Regions from separate parts of the Homo sapiens genome. Here region 2 is linked to region 1. The links are contacts of gene promoters, found by promoter capture Hi-C in human tissues and cell types (Jung and others, 2019). All regions are on one chromosome and are shown on one strand. Each heading gives the region's core, a stretch centred on a gene start or on the middle of the fragment in contact. The rest is flanking DNA. Distances are from core to core; before and after follow the strand shown.

The links. The method cuts DNA at HindIII sites, captures the fragments that hold promoters and counts their contacts. A contact is called where the count stands out against the background at its distance.
Region 2: a contact is called between a fragment that was not itself captured here and the fragment with the promoter of ARHGEF7 in region 1, in 2 of the 25 tissues and cell types used here (aorta and small bowel).

Annotation. Positions count from the first base shown.
Region 1 is chr13:111,113,991-111,116,610 of GRCh38, forward strand. ARHGEF7 (Rho guanine nucleotide exchange factor 7) reads left to right here and starts at 1,320. Exons shown (of 22, transcript NM_001354046.2): 1 at 1,320-1,701. The coding sequence starts at 1,537. It overlaps ARHGEF7-AS2 (ARHGEF7 antisense RNA 2), which reads right to left and starts at 1,688. Exons shown (of 2, transcript NR_046667.1): 1 at 1,557-1,688; 2 at 1-928. RefSeq lists a silencer at 1,193-1,282. The HindIII fragment of the contact is 8,096 bases long and covers 155-2,620 here.
Region 2 is chr13:111,248,500-111,251,119 of GRCh38, forward strand. All of the region lies in intron 8 of ARHGEF7 (Rho guanine nucleotide exchange factor 7), which reads left to right. Among named protein-coding and RNA genes, the nearest start is that of TEX29, 71 kb to the right of the region's middle. The HindIII fragment of the contact is 4,062 bases long and covers 1-2,620 here.

The DNA of each region.
Region 1 (2,620 bases), core at 70-2,569:
ACGGGTTAGGTATGCCTTTCCTGGTAGGAGCCGAGCTTTGGGTCTTATCTCTGCCACTTGTTCGGCATCTGATCAGTAAAAGGGGACCATGATGGGAGGCGAGGCAGTAGACAGCACTTTGTGACGGTTCCTAACCAGTCGCTGTTATCACTGAGCACATTGTCCTCGTAATCCAGAATTCATACTGCCATTTGAATATTTTTTGTATTTGCAAAGAAAATTTTAACCACTTAACTCAAGGCTAGAAATAAAAGCAATTAGTGATTGCAAGAGAAATCCACCGGCAGAAGGCAGGGGGAGACGACTTAAGCCTCTGATTATTTTTGGAAGCTTTATATGCTTTCTAGCCTTTGTCATTGAATGGATTAATGTATGTGCCTGGCATAGACTAAGTGCTTTGCTTGTTAAACTGCCCGCGGGTCATAGCGAGCAAACTGGGGGAGCGCCCAGGGACAGTGGATGGAGTGAGTGGAGACTCGTGTCCTTTTAAGAAGAGGCTCCATTTCTTCCTCGCATGTCAATGTGTGCGTGTCATCAGTTGTTCGAGGAAGCTCGCGCATGACGCGACACTTGCCGTCTGGGCTCTCCAGGTTCGGCCTGCTGCTTTCACAGCCCAGATCTTCGGCGTCCCCGAGACGCAGCCAGGCGCCCGGCCCGGCCCGGCCCGGCCCTCTGCACAGCCCCACTTCAGGCCACGCCGTTTCCTTGACCTTCCCCCGGCAGGGTCTGAAGCGTCACCGTCCGTCTAGAGCAGAGTCGCGCAGGCCCCTGCCCTGCCGGTGAGGTCGGCGCCGCGCTCCGGAGAGTCGGTTCCTCCCGATTCAGACCCATATGGCTTCAGATGGAACCATCATTTCTGTTCCGTCATGACCGGCTTGCAAGGTAGCAAAGCGAAACAAACGTCTCGTTTTCAGCCTGTCCCCGCCACCTTGAAATAAAACCGGCAAAAATAAAAAGAGCATTCTGGGAAGTACTTCATCATTTCAACGCTCACGAATTCAAAACATAAACAAAGGCTTCCGAGTGCCCCGGCCAGGGGCGCGGGGCGCACGGCGGGCCCGGGGCAGGTAAGCGCAGGTGCGCGCCCGCCCCCACCCCCGGCTCCCTCCCCATCCGCTCCCCGCTCCCCTTCCCCTTTCCCTTCCCCGCCCGCTCCCAGCCGCCGCCGCCGCCCCGCGCACGGCCTGGAGCGGAGGCTGCGCAGGGCGCGGGGCGGCGCGGGCCGGGCGCGGGCCGGGCGGACGGCCGCGTCTTTCTTCTCCTGGCGGTGATGTCATTGGGCGACGGCGGCCGAGGCCGGGGGGCGGCGGCGGGCGCCCGCAGGTTCCCGAGCCGCTCCTGAGAAGGCGCCTGACAGCGGGCCGGGGCGCACGGAGAAGCGGGCCGGGCCGGACCTGCTGGGCCGCGCCGAGCCAATCGCCGGCGCCGGCCGCTCGATGGGCGAGGCGGCGGCGGCGGCGGCGGGGGCCGCGGGCCGGGCCGCCGCTCCGAGGTGAAGGCGCGCGCCCCTCCCCGCCTGCCTCCCGGGCCGCAGCGATGAATTCCGCCGAGCAAACCGTTACGTGGCTCATCACTCTGGGGGTGCTGGAGTCGCCCAAAAAAACCATCTCGGACCCGGAGGGCTTTCTGCAGGCGTCGCTGAAGGATGGGGTGGTCCTCTGCAGGCTGCTGGAGCGCCTGCTCCCCGGGACCATCGAGAAAGTAAGTCCCGGCCCGCGCCCCCGCCCGCGCCCCCCGGTCCGGCCCGCTGCGGCCCGGGATGCGCGCGGAGCACCTGAGGCCGGCCGCGCTCGGGAAACCCGTGCGCCCTCCTTTGTGCGCGGAGCGGCGGCGCGGCCGGCGCCAGGACCGTGGCGGGAGCTCGGGGGGCGCCATTGTGTGCGGGGCAGGGGGAGGGGGCCGGGGAGCGGGGTCGGGGGGAGGGGCGGCGCGGGCGGCGGGGGTCCCCGGGAAGGAGAGTGCACCGCAGCGAGGAGACGGGGCTTCTGCGCCGCCCGAACGCTAAGTTGCCCCTCCGCGTGGGGGGCCGGCCCCGCTCCCTGGCAGCAGCCGCATCGGAAACCGCGTTCCGACGCGGTGCGGCTCACTCCGCTGGCTTTGTGTGGACAGTTCTTGCCGGTGGCGTTGCGTGAGTTTCGCCTCCCAGGTTAATTGACCGGTTGCTCTGTATTTTTAAAGAGGCACGCATCTGTAGCTGAGGGCTGCGCTGTGAAACGATCTACTACTTTCCCCTCGAGAAAATTCCCCACCTATCCGAGCCGAGAGGACGGCAGACACAGGGTCTAAGTCCTGGCACTCTTCAAGGCTTGTTAAAATTCTAGATTTCGTTCTCAGGTCCCTCCCTCGTTCTGAACAGAACCTTTAGTCCTGCAGGCACTGCTTCTCCCTTCCGGCTGGTGGTTCCCAGGCTGGAGCGTGTGAACCCTGACCCGAATCTCTGGAAGTGATTAAAGTTTGTTTTCATCGCCCACAAGCCGGCCAGCAGGGCCGAGGAGGCAGGAGAGTTTCTAAAAACGATGTCTCCCTGTAGCTCAAAATACTAAAATCTTATTCCCAGGGTGTTTCTTCGGGGGGTGGGGTGGGGGTGGGGGTGGCCAATATATAGCGTTAAGATCAACAG
Region 2 (2,620 bases), core at 74-2,573, 130 kb after region 1:
ACACCCATGTAGACCTTTTGCTGGAGGTCCTGGATTTGCTCGTTGCTTTCTGACCTGGTCTCTGCTCTGTTCTTCAGGTTGAATGGCGTCTGCTGTGTCCTAAGTGTTCACTGTCTGCCTCTCTACTCTCTTGTTCGTCCCCGTGCAACAAGTTTTTAGTTTGAGAATTTTTTTCAGTTCTAGAATTTGTTTCGCTTAAAAAAAGTGTTTAGTTCTCTGCTAAGATTTTATATTTGTTCATTCACTACAAGAATATTTTTCTTTATATCCTTTAGCAATAATTAGAATAACTGCTTTAAGGTCCCATCTGCTGATTCTTTATTGTGAGGATGGGTTACGTCTTCATGATTCTTTTTATTTCTAGTGACTTTGAATTGTGTCCTGTTTACTGTGGGTTGTAGACTCTTGATCATGTTAGGTTTCCCTGAAGAGTATTGATTTGCTTGTTTGACAGGCAGTTAACTTGGTCAGGCTCAAATTGCCAACTCTCCCTTTGGCAGATGCTCAAATCTCAGTCCACTTATTTTAGACTCAGCTGATCTGAAGTTGGCCTTGCAAGTTCTGTTCTGCCGTCAGCCAGAGATTTGGGCAGAATTTAGAGACAGAATTCAGGGTCACACTCACCGTGGGTTTCCCCCAGCTTCCCAGCAACTCTGGTAGAACCAAACCCTGTGGATTTTTGTTGGAGTTTTAGCTGTTCCACATAACAAAGTTGGCTGCCATTAGCTTAATAGTTGAGAAAGCAGGAGGTGCCCTGCCCGTTCTTTTTTCCAAATGTCCATCCTTCCCCAGAATATACCTGATGCTAACTAAAAAGTGATTCAGGCAGGTCTCAATCGATAGAGGTTTACGTAGCTGCAGTTGAGGACGTGCCAGGTAACAGGAGCATTTGTGCTTTTTCCAAAGCTTTGAGAAGTTCAGTATTTAAAGGGGAAAGAACAAGCAGGAGGGGAAAAAAGGGAGGCTGGGGAGCAGTGAGGCAGATGCTTAAACATTGTTGTGAGCCTCCGATTGGCCTCAGTAAGCCTGCATTTTACACGGGAAAGGGGGAGTAGAGGAAAGTCAGTTGTGCGTTTTTCTCAGGGTTCTCTTTCACGGGAAGGGTGATTTCTGCTCTTGTCCTTGTCTGTACCTATGAAGATAAGCTGGTACTTGACATTGCCAGGGTGAGATACAATAGAACTCGGTTTTAGGGCTAGTTTTTAGTGGGGGACATATGTTCTGATAGATTTAGGGGCTCACAAGAAATCTCCTTGTGAGCACTTTGTGAGGAAGGCCATCTGGGGAGCTATGTGGCCTTCTGTAGTTGTGGGCACCTGGCGTATGGATGAGGCCATGACACAGGGTTGTGGAATGACAGCTCTCTGTTCGGCAACAAAAGGCAGACAGTGTTGCACAGTTCAGTTCCCAAGCTTCACTTTCCCACTGGCATAGTGAGTTTGGGTCCCAAGATTCTGTTATCTTTCATGCTACTTTTGAGTGCCTCTAGGCAGTTACTTTCTATATGTTTTTTAAAGTTTCGATGTTATTTGCAGGCGAGTCAGTTTGATAGGAGTAATTTGGCTATAGCCAGATTTATAGAACCCATTTCCTTTTAGTTTTTCAAATCACAGTTCTTCCTTTCATCAGCTGTAGAGGGCTCCTTGCAAGCATGCTTTGTCTAGGCTTTCAGTTCAAAACAATAGAAACTGCAATCTGCCTTCCATGCCCTTGTGCCATTTGCTGCATTAGTAGCGGCACACTGTCATTTGTGTTGTGAGGTTGTGATAGCTGGAATGTGCCCAGTTTGCCTAGAGCAGCTTTCTCAGGTATGCGTGCATTCGGCGCTTGTGCACACGCTGCCACCACGTGCGTGATGCTGGCTGGCTGCTGATAGAGCCTGTCCTGGTGGAGCTTATAGTCTGGTGAGGGAGACAGATAATTGAAAATTGTATAAATAGTTAGAAAGCTACAATTGCAGACCTTCTTACGAAAGAAATCATATCAGGCACCAAGAGCAAACTTCAGGGGAAGATCACTGAGCACTGAGGGGTAAATGGGAGGTAACCAGGCAAAAAACGAGAGGAGGTTTTTCCTCACACCAGCACTTCGTCAATTGTCTGACACTGAGTTTCCAGTGGTTCAGTTCTATTCGGACATTTGTCTCCCACGAGACTGCCACATTTCAAACCCAGCTGCAAATGGGGTGCCCAAGCTATATACTCCTACCTGACTGAGTACAGATTTGAGGGTTCCCATGACTCCCTTCAGGTTTGATAATTTGCTGGAATGACCCATGTATGTAACTCAGGAGAGTGCTTGACTTCCTGGTACCAGTTTATTATGAAGGATGCAACTCAGAATGAGATGGATAGAAGAAAGATGTAGGGTAAGGGATGGGAGCAGAGTTTCTAGGCCCTCTGGGTGCAGCACCTCCGTGCTTTCAGCAACCCAAAATCTCTCCAAGCCCTGTCCTTGGTGGTTTCTAATGTAGGCTCTGTTAGGTAGACATGCATGATTGACTAGATCACTGGACATTGCTGAGTGGCATGATCTCCAGCCCCTTGTCCTCCCTTTAGGTTGCTGGTTGGGGCTGAAAGTTCCTGTGATCATGGTGGTCTTTGTGACACCTAGCCCCCAT